2 separate regions of the Homo sapiens genome follow, and region 1 is linked to region 2. Evidence: promoter capture Hi-C in 16 types of primary human blood cells and fetal thymus (Javierre and others, 2016). All regions are on one chromosome and are shown on one strand. Each heading gives the region's core, a stretch centred on a gene start or on the middle of the fragment in contact. The rest is flanking DNA. Distances are from core to core; before and after follow the strand shown.

Evidence for each region. The method cuts DNA at HindIII sites, captures the fragments that hold promoters and counts their contacts. A CHiCAGO score of 5 or more calls a contact.
Region 1: a contact is called between a fragment that was not itself captured here and the fragment with the promoter of LINC02610 in region 2, in 2 of 17 cell types (M1 macrophages and total CD4 T cells). The highest score is 6.5, in M1 macrophages.

The regions. Positions count from the first base shown.
Region 1 is chr2:238,026,240-238,031,785 of GRCh38, forward strand. It overlaps UBE2F (ubiquitin conjugating enzyme E2 F (putative)), which reads left to right. Exons shown (of 10, transcript NM_080678.3): 7 at 4,317-4,374. It overlaps UBE2F-SCLY (UBE2F-SCLY readthrough (NMD candidate)), which reads left to right. Exons shown (of 19, transcript NR_037904.1): 5 at 4,317-4,374. It also overlaps the pseudogene RNU6-1333P. Among named protein-coding and RNA genes, the nearest start is that of SCLY, 32 kb to the right of the region's middle. RefSeq lists an enhancer at 1,859-2,472. The HindIII fragment of the contact is 889 bases long and covers 1,777-2,665 here.
Region 2 is chr2:238,229,937-238,235,154 of GRCh38, forward strand. LINC02610 (long intergenic non-protein coding RNA 2610) reads right to left here and starts at 1,741. Exons shown (of 3, transcript NR_026926.1): 1 at 1,398-1,741. It also overlaps the pseudogene TARDBPP3. RefSeq lists an enhancer at 4,306-4,807 and silencers at 4,508-4,637, 4,788-4,877. The HindIII fragment of the contact is 6,584 bases long and covers 1-2,210 here.

The DNA.
Region 1 (5,546 bases), core at 971-3,470, 200 kb before region 2:
TTGGAAAGTAGGCACAAAGTGTTTTCTTAGCACATTTCTCCTACTTTTGACATGAAATGCAATTAGTGGCCTAAGTCATTTCTCATGCTCAACTTCCGTATCTCTTTTCTTTCATTCCTCTCTCCTTAGTAAACACTAATCACCTTTGAAAGGAAATGTGTAAACTGTGGCTGCTGGAAATCTTACCTCAGGATCCCTTTCTCTTTTTTTTTGAGATGGAGTCTCGCTTTGTTGCCCAGGCTGGAGTGCAGTGGCGCGATCTGAGCTCACTGCAAGCTCCGCCTCCCAGGTTCACGCCATTCTCCTGCCTCAGCGTCCCGAGTAGCTGGGACTACAGGCGCCTACCACTACGCCCGGCTAATTTTTGTATTTTTTAGTAGAGACTGGGTTTCACTGTGTTAGCCAGGATGGTCTCAATCTCCTGACCTTGTGATCTGCCCGCCTCGGCCTCCTAGAGTGCTGGGGTTACAGGTGTGAGCCACCGCGCCGGGCCGGATGCCTTTCTCTTCACAAGTACAGTTAGTGCCCATTTGCCCATTTCATTTTTGTATATACTGCTCCTTCTTCAATATCAGCCTCGTTTTTCACAGATGGTTAAAAATACATTTTACCAGACATACCTTTTTAAAAAAGCATCTTCCCTTTGAAGTATCTGTCCTTTACGTATTGAAACATTAAAATTCCACTATCTTTGGTTGCAGGTTATAAATGTGTTTGGCCCAGGCCCCCACTGCCCCGCTTCCTCCTGTGCTTGTGAGGACACCTGGCTCACTTTCTGGGGGGCCATACTCTACTTCCCTGTCTTGTCCCTGCCTTAGTCAGAAATGGGTCCAGAATAGGAAGCTCTCTTGTCCCTTTTGCCGTCTTCTGGGAAGTCAGATGATTAGCAAAGCCTTATAAGGATGAACAGATGGTATCCTGATATAAAAGCCAGACGTCTTAAGGAAAAAGATTGTCAGATTTGACCATGTAAAAATTAAAAACACAAAATGGAAGAAGAAATGATCAACTGGATTAACATCCTTGGTATGTAAATAGTCCTTACTATTCATTATAAAAAAGACGGATACTTCTCTGGAAAAATGTGGCATTGGCTACAAATAGGTGATTCATAAAAGGAGAAATAGAGGTGGGCAGTAAATATCTGAGGAGATGTTCACTCTCATCAGTAACCAGAGAAAGGCGCAGAAGACCATGAAGTGTGGCTTACCACTCACCAGATTGGCAGGCACAAAGGTAGATACTTGGTGGCTGGGGGAGGAGTGTGTGACAGAGAGCGAGCAGGCTCTCTTGTTGGAGGGTGTGTGTATTTGCACACCTTTCATTGGTCCTTCAGCCACGTAGACTACCTGTAACTCGTATGTACCCTTGGACTTGTCAGCTGCACTTCTAGGGATTTAATCTAAGGAAATAATGTGCCAGATTGATGTACGGGGACCACCTTGTTAGTGAAAAGCAGACAGTGTCCAGTGGCAGCTTTATGGTGTGTCCCGAATAAAGGGAAGGAAAAGCCCAACCGCACCTCTGGTTTGTGGTGACGCTGACAGCAGCTCATCAGCCCTTCCCACAGCAGGACTGATGGGTGCCTGGGGCTCCACAGGCCTTTCAGTGCTGGCACACAGGAGCACCTTCCTCTTTTAGAGAGATTTGCCCTGGCTCCACCTTGTTGTCCCGGCAGGGACCCTTCGCCTGCTCTGGCACAAGGTCAGAGGCTCCATGTCTGTGGGATTGGAGGGCCTAGGTCAAGAGCTCAGTCAAAGCTTCTCCTAGAGTCCAAGCTTCTATTACAGTTCGTGGGGTGTCCTTTGTCTCCTTGCTTAATGACATCTCTGATAGCCAAGTGTCTCTGTCTCCTGAGCTGTTGCTGGGACTATCCTCTGTGAGGCCAGGCTAGAACTTCCTCAGTGACTGGAGGCACTGCACCCCTGATGGGCCTCACTGCTGCCCAGACCAGTGGCCACCACATGCTGGGGCCGGCCTTGCCTCCCCATTACCTGCCCCAGCCAGATGCAAAGCCCTCCTGCTCTGGCTGTGCTGTTAACAGCAAAGCTCAGGGTGAGCTTCCTTCTCCTTCATTCAGCTAATGTTGATTGAGCTTAGGCACTGGCAGAGGAATTAGCATTCCCTGCTTTTATGGATGAAACAGGCATTCAACAAATAAATGACAAATATATAACTGAAGGTTGCATTAAGATCTATATAAGAAAATGATTAGCTAGATCAGAAATAATTCCTCCATTCAACAAAATATAGCCACTAGGATTTGACTTCATTCCCAAAAAAGTTATTCAGAAGTTGACAATTCAGATCCACAAGTCACCAATACCTCTGTAGGGTAGAAAGACGTCCACCCAGTTGGTAGGATACATGATTTGAGTTTTCCTTTTTTCTTTTTAAGGCTAAAAGTAAATTTTAATGGTCAATTTAAGGTTAGTTATCTGTTTTTTTTAACTGCTCTTCACAGACAATTAAGATTATAGCTTTGATTCAAACTCTACATATTTTTCTCCTGATCTGAATTGACTTTTGTGAATTTAAACATGCTCTAATTCAAAAAAGTTTATCAGAGGTAACAATTATGGATAAAGCCTGATATTTTATTTACAGATCAAAGCCACAGCACAATAATTCAACAAATACAAAAGTAATTTTATCTCCAGAAGGAAGCTTGGCAATAAATTATACTTTTTTCAAAGTATGGAATGATCATTTAATCCTTTTAAAATTATTTAAAATTTTTTTTTTACTTTTTAAGATTATTGGGAAAATGCTAATCTTCTCTGTATCATCCCAATTTGAGCATATGTGCTGCGGAAGTGAGCACTGGAATGATCATTTCCATGAGAGTATATGGTGTGCCTTTACAGCTGATAGACAGTAATGACCAGGACTCTCAGGTACCAGCTTCAGAAACAGGGCTTCATCAGACCTCTGAATCCTGGTGTGCCTTCCCTGAGCATGGGCCCCCCACCTAAGGAGTGATTGATACTCAGAATTTTGCATTAATCTTTTATCCTCAAGCTTTTTCTTTTGAACTTTAAAAAAATAAAAAAAAAAACCCAGTTACGGCTGGGCGTGGTGGCTCACGCCTGTAATCCCAGCACTTTGGGAGGCCGAGGCGGGCGGATCACGAGGTCAGGAGATCGAGACCATCCTGGTTAACACGGTGAAACCCCGTCTCTACTAAAAATTCAAAAAACAAAATTAGCCGGGCGTAGGTGGTGCATGCCTTGTAGTCCCAGCTACTCAGGAGGCTGAGGCAGGAGAATGGCGTAAAACCGGAGAGGTGGAGCTTACAGTGAGCCGAGATCGTGCCACTGCACTCCAGCCTGGGAGACAGAGAGAGACTCCGTCTCAAAAAAAAAAAAAAAAACCCAGTTATTAAAATGTCATATGCTGGGAGCTCCCATTGTTGTTAACCTGCATCAGCAGTGTTTCAGAATGTCGGTGCCCGTGAGCTGCCTGGGTTGGAAGAACAACATTGTTCATGAGGCGTGTGCCCTTGGGCGTGTCTTCTCTGTGCCTTGGTTTCCTCCTGTATAAGACAGGGAAACAGGGATGCTCTCTTCACGGGTGGTTATAGGCATTAAGTGAATTTAATGGCACAGCACCTAGGATTGTGCCTGACATACACATAATAAGCTCTAAGCTTCAGTTACTCCTGTTGTCATGTTGTCATTTTGTTGCCATTGTCATTTTCTTTCTTTCTTTCTTTTTTTTTTTTTGAGACAGGGCCTCACACTATTCCCAGGCTGGAGTACAGGGGCGCCATCACAGCTCACTGCAGCCTTGAACTTCTGGACTCAAGCAGTCCTCCACCTTTGGGAGTACAGGCGTGCACCACTATGCCTGGCTAATTTTTAATTTTTAGTAGAGACAGGGTATCACTGTGTTGCCCAGGCTGGTCTCAAACTCCTGGACCCAAGCTATCTTCCCACCTTGCCTCGGCCTCCCAGAATGCTGAGATTACAGGCATGAGCCACCATACCCAGCCACCATTGTCATTTTCTGAATATTAAATTGACAAATGTTCTTTGTGTGTTGTTTTAAACATGCTCTTCCTCAGCCTAAAACTTCCATGTCAAGTATTACAACAAATAGATAAACATAACACAAGACGTTATAATTGAATATGTATATAACCTTGGAGGTGGAAATGCCTTCCTCAGCAAGAGAAAACTGAGAAGCCACAGAGGAAAAGATGGGTTTAATAAAAAGTAGAGCTCCTGCATGGCACACACCGAGAGGACTAGTTGGCAGCGTGCAGGGCACCTGTGGCTGCTCCTCACTAACCACTGTGTGTTTGTCTTTTTCAGTTTATTGAGAGAACATTCAATTGATGGCACTGGCTGGGCTCCCACAAGAACATTAAAGGTAGAGTCTGTGCCTTGATCTTGATCATAAGTTGTCCCTGTGGTCCTCTCCCTGCAGTAGCCAGCCTCCCGAGAAAGCAGCACATGTCCTTGCCTGTCACATCCACACCAGTGGCCGGACACACCCTGCCTCCTCTTCTCCCTGCTGCCTAGGCTACTTAGCCAGTCACTGACCTCGGTCAGTTTGGGCCGGATGAGCATCCTTGTTGACTTTGCCAGGCACCATTCTAGAACCAGAGATAGGAGCCCAAACTGCAGGCTTCACAGCCAAACCACCCGCCACATAGGAAACCTCATGGCCATCATTCATTCAACAGGGATGTCTTGAGCTTTTCTGGCCACTAGGTGTTGGAGGAGGAGCAGCAAATTGATGTGCAAACCACTCCCTATGGCCAGAGAAGACTGTCAGGTGTTGGGTACCTAACATCAGGCAGGGACCCTAGGGGAACAGCACAGGAAGGGGCTTTTGGCCCTGGCCCTGCATAAGGGAACACTGCAGACTGCATGCAGTCCTGACCCAGCTCCTCCGAGCTGTAGTCTCTGCCACCATGGGCAGCCCACCCAGCCTTTTCTTAGCCTCTCCCCACGCTCTAGAAATGTCCTGCCCTCTCAGAACTTTCCCTCTGCAGGTCGTGCCTCTACCTGGAAGGCGGCCCTCTCCTCCAGCCCTCTCCCTGGCAGACTCCTGCTCCCCTGGGGCTCAGATGGCTGTCATTGCCTCTGGAGCCTCTCCTCCCAGGGTGGGTGCTCTGGGGAACACGTCTCATGAACAGTGCTGGCCTGCTGACCTGCCCATCTGTACATCCCCCTTCCTCAGGCTGAGGGCTCACCTTCACCCACACTCCAACCCTAGGCCTGGCTCACATCGGAAGGTCAGGGATGGGTGGGTGGATGGATTGATGGACTAGAGAAAACAGAGAAAGGCAAATAAAATTACCAACTAGCAAAAAGTAGGGGAGGAGCATGAGAACAGGCCTAAAAAGGACGAAACTCTTGAGTTGATGAAGAGGAAAATGGAGAATGAATTTGTGATTCACAGATGGCAGGTCAGTACAGATAGAACAACTCTGGCTTTCAGTTTTATTTAATGAAAATCTCTGATCCTTGAATTGTGAATCTTCTATGATTCTTTAAATAACTAATGCAAAATCATTAAGAAAACTTAATAGGATG
Region 2 (5,218 bases), core at 491-2,990:
CACTGCACTCCAGCCTCCAGCCTGAGACAGAGTGAGAACCTGTCTCAAAAAAAAAAAAAAAAAAGACAACATTTAATATCCAGTTGTGAAGAGCCACTGCCAGAACCTGAGAAGGAATGGTGGAACAAGAAGAGCAAGAAGACTAGACAGAGAACAATTTTTTGAGATAAGGTCTCACTCCCATTGTCCAGGCCAGAGCACACTGGCGTGATCTCAATTCACCGCAGCCTTGACTTCCCGGGCTCCAGTGATACTCCCACCTCAGCCTCTCGAGTGGCTGGGACTACAGGTGCGGGCCACCATGTCTGGCTAATTTTTTGCATTTTTGGTAGAGATGGAGTCTTGCTATGTTGCCCAGGCTGGTCTTGAACTCCTGGGCTCAAGCGATCTGCCTAACTCAGCCTCCCAAAGTGCCGGGATTACAGGTGTGAGCCACCGTGCTCTGGCAAGAACAATGTTTTAAGAAGCATGAGGATGTTGAGTATCAAATGCCGCAAAGTTCGGGTGAGAAAACTGAAGAGTCTACTCGGCAATCAGGAGTTCATTGGAGACTCTGGCAGAAGTTTTCTATAGTAGAATGGCAGGAAATGTAGCCATACTGAAATTTTGTTAGGGACAAACAGGTGATGAGGAAATGAAGAAAATGAGAATGAAGACTGTTTTTAAGAAACTGGAGTGTGAAGAAAACAGTAGGACAATAAGTAAGAAACCTCAACGGGGTGTGAGGACAAGTTCCCCAGGATAAAGTGGATAAGATGGAGGTTGGCACTTAAGATTTGGAGCAGGTTCAACAGAGAGGAATGGCAAGGTTTGAGGGATGGTTCCTGACGTCTAAGGGCGCATTTAATATTCTTTCAAGGTTAAGGTGGGGCAAGATCTGGAGGAGAGAGGATAGTACCCCAAGTGTCATCATCCATTGACAGGTCAATAGGTAGTACAGCGACATGGGAACAGAGCAGGTGTGCACAGAAAGCATGGTTTCCCAGGGAGGGCAGTATTTTTCCATGAGGATGCAAGAGTGAAAAGCCTGGGAGATTCCACGAAGAGCTGAGGGGCTTCTGAGCCACAGCTTAAACCTTAACCCTCCTCCTCTCAGATACATTCAAATCCAAGTACTGATAATAATCTAGTAAGACCTGGGCTTCCCTGGCTACCGTCTATCAAGGAATGCCAGTGTCTGCCTCTGGGCAGTGCGCGTTGGATTTGGGTTCTCTGCGGGGTCTTGCTGATCTTAAAGACAATGCAGGGGCCTTGTGAGTCTCACCTCTGTACCCCCAGCACATAACAGGTGCTCAACACATTCGCGAGGGGAGCGCTGAGCAAAGCGGAGGCCCGGGTTCCCTCCTGGAGAAACCTGCTTCCCCTCCAAGGCCTCAAGCGTCCGCTCCTTCACTGACCTCAATCGTTGATTTCGGCTGCACTTCCTATCCCTGGGGGAGCTTTCAACGCTCCGCCGTCCAGGCCGCCGGGCCCCGCAGCCCGCGCCCCGCTCTCTAGGGCTGGGCCCCCAGGGGCTGGACGACCTCTCTCGCCTTCGCTTTCTCAAGCGTAAATCGGGCGGCGGGGGCTGCAGAGCCTTCATCTCTTCCTCCGTCCCGGGATGTCGGAGAGACGGCAGCCCAGCCTCCGCCACCGCAAAGCTGCTTAACGGGCAGCGCGAGTCCCTCGGGCACCGTTGGAGGCCGTTGCTCACCGTTGGGCAAGTGCTTTAAGAAGCACGAGGATGTCGAGTGTCAAATGCGGCAAAGGGCTCAGAGCTCGCCGCCAAGGGGCGTGGCCTCCGGGCCGCGGCGGCCTCTGGGAGTTGTAGTCCCGCCTCAACTTGTGGTGGCCTCTTTAAAAAAACAAAAAACAAACAAACAAAAAAACACTGGCGCTTGGGTCCGTCGCTGCCTCGGTGTCCCTGTCGGGCTTCCCAGCAGCGGCCTAGTGGAAAAGTAAAAGATGTCTGAATATATTCGGGTAACCGAAGATGAGAACGATGAGCCCATTGAAATACCATCGGAAGACGATGGGACGGTGCTGCTGTCCACGGTTACAGCCCAGTTTCCAGGGGCGTGTGGGCTTCGCTGCAGGAATCCGGTGTCTCAATGTATGAGAGGTGTCCGGCTGGTAGAAGGAATTCTGCATGCCCCCGATGCTGGCTGGAGAAATCCGGTGTATGTTGTCAACTATCCGAAAGATAACAAAAGAAAAATGGGTGAGACAGAAGCTTCATCAGCAGTGAAAGTGAAAAGACCAGTCCGATTTAATAGTGTTGGGTCTCCCATGGAAAACAACTGAACAGGACCTGAAAGAGTACTGTAGTACCTTTGGAGACGTTCTTATGGTGCGGCAAAGCCAAGATGAGCCTTTGAGAAGCAGAAAAGTGTTTGTGGGGCGCCGTACGGAGGACATGACTGAGGATGAGCTGTGGGAGTTCTTCTCTCAGTATGGGGATGTGATGGATGTCTTCGTCCCCAAGCCGTTCAGGGCCTTTGCCTTTGTTCCATTTGCAGATGATCAGATTGCGCGGTCTCTTTGTGGAGAGGACTCGATGAAAGGAATCAGCGTTCACATATCCAATGCCGAACCCAAGCGCAATAGCAATAGACAGCAAGAAGTGGAAGATTTGGTGGTAATCCAGGTGGCTTTGGGAATCAGGGTGGATTTGGTAAGAGTAGAGGGGGTGGAGCTGGTTTGGGAAACAATCAAGGTAGTAATATGGGTGGTGGGATAAACTTTGGTGCGTTCAGCATTAATCCAGCCATGATGGCTGCCCCCCAGGCAGTGCTGCAGAGCAGTTGGTGTACGATGGGTGTGTTAGCCAGCCAGCGAAGCAGCCAGGCCCATCGGATGATAACCAAAGCCAAGGCAACATGCAGAGGGAGCCAAACCAGGCCTTCGGTTCTGGAAATAACTCTTGTAGTGGTTCTAATTTTGGTGCAACAATTGGTTGGGGATCAGCATCCAATGCAGGGTCGGGCAGTGGTTTTAATGGCGGCTTTGGCTCAAGCATGGATTCTAAGTCTTCTGGCTGGGAACGTAGACAGTGGGGTTGTGGTTGGTTGGTATAGAATGGTTGGAATTCAAATTTTTCTAAACTCATGGTAAGTATATTGTAAAATACATATGTACTAAGAATTTTCAAAATTGGTTTCTTCAGTGTGGAGTATATTCAGTAGTATTTTTGACATTTTTCTTTAGAAAAAGGAACAGCTAAAGGAATTTTATAAGTTTTGTTACATGAAAGGTTGAAATATTGAGTGGTTGAAAGTGAACTGCTGTTTGCCTGATTGGTAAACCAACACACTACAATTGATATCAGAAGGTTTCTCCTGTAATATTTTATCCCTGGACTTGTCAAGTGAGTTCTTTGCATGTTCAAAATGGAAGCCATGAATTAGAACTACATTCTTTATTCCTTGTTTTAATTTGAACCCCACCATATGGATTTTTTTCCTTAAGAAAATCTCCTTTTAGAAGATCATGGTGTCACAGTTTGGTTCTTTTGTTTTGTTTTTTAACACTTGTCTCCCCTCAAACACAAAAGTACAATATGAAGCCTTCATTTAATCTCTGCAGTTCATCTCATTTCAAATGTTTATGGAAGAAGCACTTGGTTGAAAGTAGTGCTGTAAATATTCTGCCATAGGAACACTTCTGTCTACATGCCTTCTCATTCAAGAATTCGTCATCACGCATCACAGGCCGCGTCTTTGACGGTGGGTGTCCCATTTTTATCTGCTACTCTTTATTTCATAGAGTCGTATCAACGCTGTGAACGCAAGGCTGTGATATGGAACTAGAAGGCTGTTTGAACTTTTGAAACCTTGTGTGGGATTGACGGTGGTGCTGAGGCATGAAAGGCTAGTATGAGTGAGAAAAGGAGAGAGCACGTGCAGAGACTTGGTGGTGCATAACGGATATTTTTTAACTTGGCGAGATGTGTTTCTCAATCCTGCGGCTTTGGTGACAGTGTGCAGACAGCAATGATAGCAAATAATGTACGAATGTTTTTTGCATTCAAAGGACATCCACATCTGTTGGAAGACTTTGAGTTTTTGTTCTTAGATAACCCACTTTATTTGAATGTGTTAAGTGAAATGATACTTGTACTCCCCCTACCCCTTTGTCAACTGCTGTGAATGCTGTATGGTGTGTGTTCTCTTCTGTTACTGATATGTAAGTGTGGCAATGTGAACTGAAGCTGATGGGCTGAGAACATGGACTGAGCTTGTGGTGTGCTTTGCAGGAGGACTTGGAAGCAGAGTTCAGCAGTGAACTCTGGTGTCTCAAAGAAGGGTAGAAGTTCTAATGTCTGTTAGCTACCCATAAGAATGCTGTTTGCTGCAGTTCTGTGTCCTGTGCTTGGATGCTTTTTATAAGAGTTGTCATTGTTGGAAATTCTTAAATAAAACTGATTTAAAAAAAAAAAACCAAAAATCTAAGTAAAGGGGTCGGAACTACATCTCCCAGGAGGCCCCGCGGCTCGCCTCTGGCGGGGCGGGGCTGGAGGGGGCGTGGTCAAGGCCTCGGCTCCTCCGAGCGCCTCCCAGCTCACGGCGCCCCCCGAACCCGGCTCCAAGGGACTCGGTATTCCCCAGCGCCGGCTCCGGGCAGTCCCGGAAGGGCTCAAGGGCTGGGCGACTGGCTGATCGAGACCGTCCGGGTCCTGGCTCTCGGGTCACTTGCAGAGGCCTGAGCAGAGCGTAGGGAGGGCTGGAAGGGAGGAGCCCCGGGGGGCGGCGGTGCTGAACCGGGTAGAGTCTTGAAGGTCACGGTCAGGACTGGAGTGGGAGGGGAGTCAGAGGCCTGCTGCGGAGGCCCAGGTTAGAAACGAGGCTGCCTTGGACTCGGTCGGTGGCAAAGAAGACGACACGTGGAGGCAGGGCTTAGAAGTAGAGCTCCGCCGGGCTTGGTGGCTCACGCCTGTAATCCCAGCACTTTGGGAGGCCTAGGCGGGCAGATCACGAGGTCAGGCGATCGAGACCATCCTGGCTAACACGGTGAAACCCCGTCTCTACTAAAAATAGAAAAAATTAGCCGAGCGTGGTGGCTGGCGCCTGTAGTCCCAGCTACTTGGGAGGCTGAGGCAGGAGAATTGCTTGAACCCAGGAGGCGGAGGTTGCAGTGAGCCTAGATCTCCCCCACTGCACTCCAGCCTGGGCGACAGAGTGAGACTCCGTCTCAAAATAATAATAATAATAATAAATTAATAAATAAAAATAAAAAAGAA